Linked DNA regions of Homo sapiens: region 1 is linked to region 2. The links are contacts of gene promoters, found by promoter capture Hi-C in blood cells and fetal thymus (Javierre and others, 2016). All regions are on one chromosome and are shown on one strand. Each heading gives the region's core, a stretch centred on a gene start or on the middle of the fragment in contact. The rest is flanking DNA. Distances are from core to core; before and after follow the strand shown. Region 1 has its middle 4.7 kb from the start of SP1. Region 2 holds the start of AMHR2 (anti-Mullerian hormone receptor type 2).

Evidence for each region. Contacts are between HindIII fragments. The CHiCAGO score rates a contact against its expected background, and 5 or more counts as called.
Region 1: a contact is called between a fragment that was not itself captured here and the fragment with the promoter of AMHR2 in region 2, in 16 of 17 cell types (total B cells, erythroblasts, megakaryocytes and 13 more). The highest score is 13.3, in total B cells.

The regions. Positions count from the first base shown.
Region 1 is chr12:53,372,659-53,378,277 of GRCh38, forward strand. No RefSeq gene overlaps it. Among named protein-coding and RNA genes, the nearest start is that of SP1, 4.7 kb to the right of the region's middle. The HindIII fragment of the contact is 5,800 bases long and covers 1,398-5,619 here.
Region 2 is chr12:53,419,545-53,425,104 of GRCh38, forward strand. It overlaps AMHR2 (anti-Mullerian hormone receptor type 2), which reads left to right and starts at 4,311. Exons shown (of 11, transcript NM_020547.3): 1 at 4,311-4,439; 2 at 4,744-4,926; 3 at 5,165-5,356. The coding sequence starts at 4,391. RefSeq lists an enhancer at 1,629-2,195 and a cis regulatory region at 1,880-2,398. The HindIII fragment of the contact is 5,088 bases long and covers 2,115-5,560 here.

The DNA.
Region 1 (5,619 bases), core at 3,048-5,547, 47 kb before region 2:
CTGACCATGCCTCCCAACCCTCAAACAAAAATTCTCATTTTACAACCAGCCTTTCTCCTTCAGGGCCTTCAAGACCACCAGAGCCACAGACTGCAGAGTCGAATGAATGCCTTCCTAGTATTACTAGGTGCAGCCTAGGCAGGGATGAATCACAATGCTTCTCAGATAAGGAAAGAAAGACACAGCAAAGGTACAGAATGAGTCATTTTATTTTATTTATTTATTTATTTATGAGATAGAGTCTCGCTCTGTCGCCCAGGCTGGAGTGCAGTGGCGCCATCTCGGCTCACTGCAAGCTCTGCCTCCCGGGTTCACGCCATTCTCCTGCCTCAGCCTCCCCAGCAGTTGGGACTACAGGTGCCTGCCACCATGTCCGGCTAATTTTTTTTTGTATTTTTAGTAGAGACGGGGTTTCACCACATTAGCCAAGATGGTCTCGATCTCCTGACCTTGTGATCCGCCCGCCTCGGCCTCCCAAAGCGCTGGGATTACAGGCGTGAGCCACCGCGCCCAGCTTACAACAGAATGAGTCACTTTAAATAATGTTAATAATAATAAAGAAAAGGCCTAGCGCGGTGGCTCATGCCTGTAATCCCAGCACTTTGGGAGGCCGAGGCGGGCGGATCACGAGGTCAGGAGATCGAGACCATCTTGGCTAACACGGTGAAACCCCGTCTCTACTAAAAATACAAAAAATTAGCCGGGCGAGGTGGCGGGCGCCTGTAATCCCAGCTACTCGGGAGGCTGAGGCAGGAGAATGGCATGAACCTGGGAGGCGGAGCTTGCAGTGAGCCGAGATAGTGCCACTGCAGTCCGGCCTGGGCGAAAGAGCGAGACTGTCTCTAAAAAAACAAAAAAAAAAGAATATTGGCCGGGCGCGGTGGCTCATAGCTGTAATCCCAGGACTTTGGGAGGCCGAGGCGGGTGGATCATCTGAGGTCAGGAATTGGAGACCAGCCTGACCAACATGGAGAAACCCCATCTCTACTAAAAAAATACAAAATTAGCCGGGCATGGTGGTGCATGCCTGTAATCCCAGCTACTCAGGAGGCTGAGGCAGGAGAATCACTTGAACCCGGGAGGTGGAGGTTGCAGTGAACTGAGATTGCGCCATTGCACTTCAGCCTGGGCAACAAGAGCAAAACTCTGTCTCATAAAAACAAACAAAGAAACAAACACAAAAAAGATTATCAGCAACCAGTTAACAGCAGCCAGTACTGAATTTCTCACAAGTTCTGGGCTTGCCAACCAGAAAGAAGCCTGTCTTGTTTCAGTTTCTTTTTGGATCAGTTTCTTGCTTTTCCAGGGCTCTTAAAAGACTTCCGGGGATGTATGTGATGTTCCATCCAGCTTCTATAGTCCTAATTGCACTGAATGATCCTAGCCTGCTTATCACAAGCTTCTGATGTGAAAAGTCTAGGCTTGTTTTCTTGTTCAGAGAGGTGGAAAGTAAGGGTTTAGAAGACTGCAAGACTTTACTGTTTTGTCAAAAGACTCTCTTCTTTTCTAGCCTCCTTTAATCTAGAGTAGGCAGGACAGGTAAAAGAAATTTCAGTTAGTCCACTTTGTACTCAGCTGTAGTTGAGAGTTTGATGGAGTTTCATTCTTGTTGCCCAGGCTAGAGTGCAATGGCGCAACGTTGGCTCACTGCAACCTCCACCTCCGGGGTGCAAGCGACTCTCCTGCCTCAGCCTCCTTTGTAGCTGGGATTACAGGCATGCGCCACCACGCCTGGGTAATTTTGTATTTTTAGTAGAGATGGGGTTTCTCCATGTTGGTCAGGCTGGTCTCGAACTGCCAACCTCAGGTAACCCGCCTGCCTCAGCCTCCCAAAGTGTTGGGATTACAGGGGTAAGCCACCGCGCCCGGCCTGTAAAATGTTCTTAATTATCAGATTCCTAAATGGGAGACTGAAAAAAGCTGAGGATTGGGTTCAAAATCAGGAAGAGGCCCGGTGGCTCATGCCTGTAATTCCAACACTGTGGGAGGCTGAGACGGGCGGATCACTTGAGGTCAGGAGTTTGAGACCAGCCTGGCCAACATGGTGAAACCCCCATCTCTACTAAAAATAACAAAATTAGCCAGGGGTGGTGGCATGTGCCTGTAGTTCCAGCTACCTCGGAGGCTGAAGTGGGAGAATTACTTGAACCTGGGAGACGGAGGTTGCAGTGAGCCCATATCCTGCCACTGCACTCTACCCTGGGCGACAGAGGGAGACTCCATCTCAAAATAAAACAAACAAACAAACAAAAATTAGGAAGAATGATTTAACTTTTATAAGGCACCCAAATGAAAGCTGAGAATCAATCTTAGTATTATATCTGGAGACTATTCAGGATGGTCAGGATTAGGCTTCCCCTCCCATTTAACAAAAATGTTTACTGGGACTCAACTATATTCCAGGCCCTGAGAATCCAAAGTGAAAAGGCATCATCCCTGCCCTCAAATCGCTTAATGTAGTTGGGGAGACAGGATACTTAGATACCTCTAATGGTGGCAAATAAAAGGAGCACAGTGGCCAGTGTATTCAATAACTGAGGGGGGTAGGAAAGGCTTCATAGAAGTCATTCTTATAAAAGATATGAATTTGGCCGGGTGCAGTGGCTCACGCCTGTAATCCCAGCACTTTGGGAGGCCAAGGCAGGTGGATCACAAGGTCAAGAGATCAAGACCATCCTGGCCAACATGGTGAAAACCTGTCTCTACTAAAAATACCAAAATTAGCTGGGTGTGGTGGCGTGCGCCTGTAGTCCCAGCTACTTGGGAGGCTGAGGCAGGAGAATCGCTTGAGCCCAGGAGGCGGAGGTTGCAGTGAGCCAAGATCACGCCACTGCACTCCAGCCTGGCAACAGAGCGAGACCCTGTACCCCCAACAAAAAAAAATGGTTGGGCCCGGTGGCTCATGCCTGTAATCCCAGCACTTTGGGAGGCCGAGGTGGGCGGATCACGAGGTCAAGAAATCGAGACCATCCTGGCTAACATGGTGAAACCCCGTCTCTACTAAAAATACAAAAAATTAGCCAGGCGTGGTGATGGGTGCCTGTAGTCCCAGCTACTCAGTAGGCTGAAGCAGGAGAATAGCGTGAACCCGGGAGGCAGAGCTTGCAGTGAGCCGAGATCGCGCCACTGCACTCCAGTGTGGGCCATAGAGCGAGACTCTGTATAGAAAAAAAAAAGATACGAATTTTAAGCAGGGCATGGTGGCTCGTGCTTGTAATCCCAGCACTTTGGGATTGAGCTCAGGAGTTCAACACCAACTGGGCCACATAATGAGATCTCAACAAAACATCAAAAAGTTAACCAGGTAGCCAGGTGCAGTGCCTCACACCTGTAATCGCAGCACTTTGGGAGGCTGAGGCGGGCAGATCAACTCAGGTCAGGAGTTCAAGATCAGCCTGGCTAACATGGTGAAACCCTGTCTCTACTAAAAATACAAAAATTAGCCAGGCATGGTGGCACATGTCTGTAGTCCCAGCTACAAGGGACGCTGAGGCAGAAAGAATTGCTTCAATCTGAAAGGCAGAGGTTGCAGTGAGCCAAAGTCGCGCCACTGCACTCCAGCCTGGGAAACAGGGCAAGACTCCGTCTCAGGAAAAAAAAAAATTGCCGGGCGCAGTGGCTCACACCTGTAATCCCAGCACTTTGGGAGGCCGAGGTGGGCAGAGGATCACCTGAGGTCAGGAGTTTGAGATCAGCCTGGCCAACATGATGAAATCTCATCTCTACTAAGATACAAAAATTAGCCAGGCATAGTGGCGTGCACCTGTAATCCTAGCTACTTGGGAGGCTGAGGCAGGAGAATCACTTGAACCTGGGCGGCAGAGGTTGCAGTGAGCTGAGATCGCACCACTGCACTCCAGGCTTGGAGACAGAGTGAGACTCTCAAAAAAAAAAAAGAAAAGATAGACACTGCGTGTGTGCATGTAAGGGATCTGAATAGCCTTGATATAAGTTGGTTTTTTTGTTTTTGTTTTTTTTTTTCAGTCTAAAGAACACTTTTTCAGGTTTTTACAGAGCAATTGGACAAGATGGATCATGTCATTCATTTGCTCTCAGGGACTATCAATAAACTAGTATACGTCTAGGGCATTCCTCACTGGCCTCATGCTGAATTGTCTTCTTCTGGAGGAGCAAAGGGGAAAGGATTGTAAAAAGGATGATGGCTATTGAATTTCTGAATTTAGGTCTTTTTGTCAGTTTAATTTTATCCTAATTCCCAATTCGGGTGTAGTCTAGGACTATGGAAAAAACACAGGCTTTGGAACTAAACAGAACAGTCATAATTTAACTAAAATATCTGAGCCTCAGTTTTCTCATCTGTAAAAGGGGACAACTATCTCTTAAATTGGTAGGAATAATTAAATTAGATAAATATGTGAAATGTTTAGAATACTCCTCCACGGTGTTAAGTTTCCTCTCCCTACCTCCACCCCTAAGCAAGTTTAGGTATGGACAGTTGCTGAATGGACTAAACAGCTATTAGAATCTTCAGAGCTTGGTTTACAAAGATGAGTAATGCAGTTTCTTCCTTCCAGGAAATTTCTCCCTTTCTGGAAGTTTCTTTTCCCCAGTTTCTTCTCTTGGTGTTTTTGTTTTGTTTTGTTTTCTTTTCTTTTCTTTGAGACCAAATCTTGCTCTGTCGCCCAGGCTGGAGTGCAGTGGCATGATCCCCGGTCACTGCAACCTCCGCCTCTAGGTTCAAGCGATTTTCCTGCTTCAGCCTTCCGAGTAGCTGGGACTATAGGCATGCACCACCACGCCCGACTAATTTTTGTATTTTTAGTAGAGATGGGGTTTCACCATGTTGGTCAGGCTGGTCTCGAACTCCTGACCTCCAGTGATCTGCCCGCCTCTGCCTGCCAAAATGCTGGGATTACAGGCATGAGCCACTGCGCCCAGCCTTCTTGGTGTGTTTTAAACTAGGTTTAGGGCCTAATCACTTGAAAGAGCTACTTAAAAATAGGTTTAGGGTGGAAATCTAGGAATCTGCCTTTTTTGAAAAAAGAACCCAGAGGATTCTGAGAGTGTGTGACATTTCATTTTGAGAAACCTTGATACAGTGAGAGATGAAATTAATTGTCATGTATTCTGATAAATTTTATAATAAAGGTATCTAAGAGGATGATGCCATTTGATCCGTCCTGGGAGTAGGCTTTTTTTTTTTTTTTTCAGGAGCTAGACAGTAAAAATTAAAAAGCATCTATATATTTACTTTTTTTTTTTTCTTTGAGATGGAGTTTCACTGTCGTTGCCCAGGCCCGAGTGCAATGGCACGATCTTGGCTCACTACAACTTCTGCCTCCTGGATTCAAGCGATTCTCCTGCCTCAGCCTCCCAAGTGGCTGGGATTACAGACATGTCCCACCATGCCTGGCTAGTTTTATATTTTTAGTAGAGACGGGGTTTCTCCATGTTGGTCAAGCTGGTCTTGAACTCCTGACCTCAGGTGATCCGCCTGCCTCGGCCTCCCAAAATGCTGGGATTACAGGCATGAGCCACCGCGCCCAGTCTATATATTTACTTATTTTGGAGCAAGGTCTTGCTTTGTTGTCCTGGCTGGAGTGCAGTGGCAGGATTTGAGCTCACTGCAGCCTCAACCTCCTGGGTTCAAGCGATTCT
Region 2 (5,560 bases), core at 3,061-5,560:
TGGGATTACAGGCGTGAGCCACCACGCCCGGCCTCCTCTTTTATTTTCATTTCCACTGTCTCAGTACTCACTTTGTTTACTGCTTAGGTCTTGCAACTGATCTCTCCAAACCCCAGTAGTCATCCATCTTCCAATTGCCACCAGGCCCCTGCCTAAAATTCTTTGCTTTTAGGGAAAGCCTAAGCTCCTTGATACAGAATTGAAAACCTGTCCAATCTGGTCCGTCTCTCTCTAAGGTGATTTTCTGTCTCATATCTCATACTGCTTCCTCCTCACTCCTTCCACCTTTAACACACAAGCCTTTGTGTTTATATCTCCATGCCTTTACTCTTGCCATTCCCTTTGCTTAGAAGGACTGTTCTCCTCTTACCATTGTGTTTACCTTTGGGACTATTTAAATATCCCCTTCTCTGTGAAACTCTCTGGGCACCTTTCTTCTATGCCCTAGGCAGAATTAGCTTACTTGATCTATTTGTATAGCTCCTTCCTCATGCCCCTAGTAGGAAACACAGTTTTCCGGTTGCTTGTCAATATCCACCTGCATTTCTACACTATGAGTTCCCAGAGGGCAGTAATCACACCTCTATCTTTGTAGGCCCAGCACCTAATGAAATACATTTTTTTTGGCCCCGCGCAGTGGCTCACGCCTGTAATCCCAGCACTTTGGAAGGCCTAGGCGGTGGATCACCTGAGATCAGGAGTTTGAAACCAGCCTGGCCAACATAGTGAAACCCCATCTCTACTAAAAATACAAAAAATTAGCCAGGCATGGTGACAGGCATCTGTAATCCTAGCTACTTGGGAGGCCGAGGCAGGAGAATTGCTTGAACCCAGGAGGCGGAGGTTGCAGTGAGCGGAGATTGCACCACTTTACTCCAGCCTGAATGACAGAGTGAGACTCCGTCTCAAAAAAAAAGGAAATTTTTTTTTAAAAATAATATAGGTGGGGGTCTCGCTATGTTACCCAGGGGGACTCCTGGCCTCCCAAAGTACTGGGATTACAGACATGAACCACAGCGCCCAGCCTCTATCACCATCTTAACTCTAAAACCTAACAGCCCAGAGCAGGTATAGTTCCCATAAACCTGACTGGAATGTTTCTATCTTGGAAAGAATTAGTTATCCGAAGCTTTGGGTGAGGAGACTGCCTTTCTGCCTGATCCTTACGCTGCTCCCACTCTGGAGGAGATAGTCTCCTGAGACATTCCAGACAAAAGAAGCTATTTCACCTTCAAATCTCCCCTCACACCCCACCACACACACCACCCCAGACTTATCTGATCTGGGGCTAGTGAAGGAAAGTAGCTGGAAGCACAACATTCCATCTCACTGGCAAGGCCCTGCAGACTCCTGGAAGGGTCCAAAGAAGGATGGGCGGCTATCTCGAGCCCTGGTCATTCCTCCCGCTGCTGTTTCACAACTACTGGAACTTTTACTATCTCTTCCTTTCATGCAGGTTTCCCAGAAGAAAGACCCCAGAATCAAAAAGTCAGTACTCAAGCTGGGCGCAGTGGCTCCCGTCTGCAATCCCGGCACTTTGGGAGGCCGAGGGGGGCGGATTACCTGAGGTCAGGAGTTTGAGACCAGCCTGGCCAACATGGCGAAACCCCGTCTCTACTAAAAATACAAAAATTAGCCGGGCGTGGTGGTATGCGCCTGTAGTCCCAGCTACTCAGGAAGCTGAGGCCGGAGAATCGCTTGAACCCGGTAGGCAGAGGTTGCAGTGAGCCGAGATCGCACCACTGCACTCCAGCCTGGGTGACAGAGCGAGACTCCGTCTCAAAAAAAAAAAAAAAAAAAAATGTCGGTACTCAGACTGTCCTCCCTGGTCTAAGCCAGATCATTCCAAGAAAGGGTTTCCAGGAAGCCACTAGGGGGACAGAAAGCTAGGGAAACAGAGAACAAGTCCCCTCTGACTCTTAATTCTCAAGGAGCCAGTGGCTCACAGGTGTGGAAGTGATTACCTATTTCTGTTGTTTCTTACTCTGGGAAAGAGTCTGGTGGAGTTGGACTCCTCTGTCTCTACTGCAGAACAAGCCATAGCCCTCTCCTCCCAACTCCATGCTGAAACTCTCCACATCCTGTGCCCGCCCTTCACATTTTATAGTCCCTGAAGCTTAGTAAATGTAGGAGGTATACTATATGTATTAGTCATCAGAGGAGGTACTTTCTGCCCTCTCACCGCAGCAGGGAATTTCTCCTCTGCTGACCTCTGGTGGTGATAGTTTGAACTGTACCCTCCCTTTTTAGTTAGTGGCCTGTTGGCAGGTAATGATGCATATTTTCTCAACAATTTAAATTCAAATGTCCAAGTATAGTATTAAGTGGTAATTTTTTTTCATTGTTGAATTTTGTACGTCTTTCAGGCAGTATAGTGTAATACAAAGAATAGAGCCGGCCGGGTGCGGTGGCTCACGCCTGCAATCCCAGCACTTTGGGCGGCCGAGGCGGAGGGATCACGAGGTTAAGAGATCGACCCCTTCGGCCGGGCGCAGTGGCTCACGCCTGTAATCTCAGCACTTTGAGAGGCCGAGGCGGGCGGATCACGAGGTCAGGAGATCAAGACCATCCTGGCTAACACGGTGAAAACCCGTCTCTACTAAAAATACAAAAAATTAGCCGGGCGTGGTGGCGGCCGCCTGTAGTCCCAGCTGCTCGGGAGGCTGAGGCAGGAGAATGGCGTTAACCCGGGAGGCAGAGCTTGCAGTGAGCCGAGATCGCGCTACTGCACTCCAGCCTGGGCGACAGAGCAAGACTCCATCTCAAAAAAAAAAAAAAAAAAAAAAAGATCGACCCCATCCTGGCCAACATGGTGAAACTCCGTCTCTACTAAAAGTACAAAAATAATAATAAAAATAAGACTAGAACCTGGACTTTGGAGTCAGACCTGCCTAAGTTCAAATTCCAGCTCTGCTATTTCCTAGCTGAATGACTTTGGGCGACTTACGTAAGTTCAGTTTTCTTACCTATAAAATGGAAATAATAAAAATAATAGGCCAGGCACAGTGGCTCACACTTGTAATCCCAGCACTTTGGGAGGCCAAGGCGGGCAGATCACGAGGTCACGAGATCGAGACTATCCTGGCCAACATGGTGAAACCCTGTCTCTACTAAAAATACAAAAATTAGCTGGACATGGTGGTGCGTGCCTGTAATCCCAGCTACTCGGGAGGCTGAGGCAGGAGAATCGCTTGAACCAGGGAGTCAGAGGTTGCAGTGAGCCAAGATGGCACCACTGCACTCTAGCCTGGTGACAGAGCGACACTCGGTCTCAAAAAATAAATAAATAAAATAATAATAATAAATATTTCAGGGGAGAATTAGATGAGATGATTGTAAAATGCATAGCCCTAGCTGTGCCCCAGCACATAGTAGGTGCTTGATAAGAAATTTGTTACCTCCTTAATAATGGGTATTTGTTCAGCCTGTGAACCAATGTGTTTTTTTTTTTTAAGTAAAATCCACGGCTAGGCATGGTGGCTCACGCCTATAATCCCAGCACTTTGGGAGGCCGAGGCGGGCAAATCACCTGAGGTAAGGAGTTCGAGACTAGCCTGGCTGACATGGTGAAACCCCGTCTCTACTAAAAATACAAAAATTAGCCAGGTGTGGTGGCAGGCGCCTGTAATCCCAGCTACTCAGGAGGCTGAGGCAGGAGAATAGCTTGAACCCAGGAGGCGGAGGTTGCAGTGAGCTGCGATCGTGCCACTGCACTCCAGCCTGGGGGAGAAGAGCGAGACTCCGTCTCAAAAAAAAAAAAAAAAAAATCCACATAGCAAAATTTACCATTGTTACTGTTTTCAATGTGTTTTTTAAAAATTCAGGTAAGTTTTGTATACTTTCTGATTCTTAAGTTGGAAAACAAGGTAACCTCTAATATGGGCTGTGAGGCCTTCCTCTGCCCAAGCAGTTGCAGATATGAACCCTGAATATAAAGAGATCTTAGGCTAGAAAGGATCTTGGGCAGAGCTGAATGGCTCTAAGCATTTGACCTCACATTGGTTTCCTCCTGAGAAGAGTCAACAGAGTCCAGCATCTTCTTCCAAGGTCAGGGAAGGGCAAAGATTTGAAATTAGGCATCACTGGGTTCTCAGCTGGGCCTCCAAGTTCCCCTCCTCTCACTATGCAGAGCAAAGAGGAGGTTGCAGAAGAGAAGAGGATATGAGATTGGTTCTCTGCTCCTCCCTTTCTTTCCCTGCTTTCCCCACACCCACCCTCTCCCCCACAGCAGCCTTCTCCCCCACAGAGGCTGGGATAGGATGAGGGGGGCGGAGTTGGGGACTGAGGGATCAGAAGCCCCAGGATGCCCTGTATCTGAAGAAAGATTTGGCCAGGGGCAGCTGTGCTGGCTTATGCTCTTCTCCTTCTGCTGCTGCCATCCTCCAGCAAGATGCTAGGGTCTTTGGGGCTTTGGGCATTACTTCCCACAGCTGTGGAAGGTAAGTGTCTACAGGGAGGGGAAGGGTCTCTCCATCCATCCAGCAAGGGAAAGGGGCGCTTGAAGCAAGAGCCACCCCTTTGGAAGAGTGGTGAGTGGGCTGGGTGAGTAAGGGTGAAGGATAGAGCCATGTGTCCCCATGGCAGGGCTCAGGTTCCAGGCCTCTGCTGACCCTGCTTCCTCCTGTGGCTTTACCATACTGACGCTGGGATGTGGAACATGTTTTGTCTATTCTTTTGGCCAGTTTTTTGCCTCTGCATTCACTCCCACCTTGAATCTTTTCCTTTCCCCACCCTGGGCCTCAGCACCCCCAAACAGGCGAACCTGTGTGTTCTTTGAGGCCCCTGGAGTGCGGGGAAGCACAAAGACACTGGGAGAGCTGCTAGATACAGGCACAGAGCTCCCCAGAGCTATCCGCTGCCTCTACAGCCGCTGCTGCTTTGGGATCTGGAACCTGACCCAAGACCGGGCACAGGTGGAAATGCAAGGTGAATGGCAAAGTATATGGCAGGTGATGGCTAGGGTGGGAGACAGACACATCCTGGGGTGTGGGTGGCAACCAAGGGGGAAGGGGAGAAATAGAACATCTGGTGGGAAAGAAAAGCCCATGAGAGCTGGAAGGGACGCCTCTGATAGAGAAGGGATTTACCCTCTGTTTCCACACCCCATTGTGCTTTCTTCCTTGCCCCCCCTTTCTCTCCTCTTCCCCTAATCCCATCCCATCAGGATGCCGAGACAGTGATGAGCCAGGCTGTGAGTCCCTCCACTGTGACCCAAGTCCCCGAGCCCACCCCAGCCCTGGCTCCACTCTCTTCACCTGCTCCTGTGGCACTGACTTCTGCAATGCCAATTACAGCCATCTGCCTCCTCCAGGGAGCCCTGGGACTCCTGGCTCCCAGGGTCCCCAGGCTGCCCCAGGTAGCCACCCAAGGGTACTGAAGCCTGATGGGGGCTGGGGCCCAGGTTAGGATGAGAGGTGGAACCAGGGCCAGTTCTCACCCTACTCCCGCCCCACGCTTTCCTCCTCCTGGCCTTGGGAAGTTGGTTGCCCTGGTGACTGGGAGATAAGGGGTCTTGTGACCAGGGTGGGGGTGGGTTGAGACGCAAGCTCTCAGGAGGGGA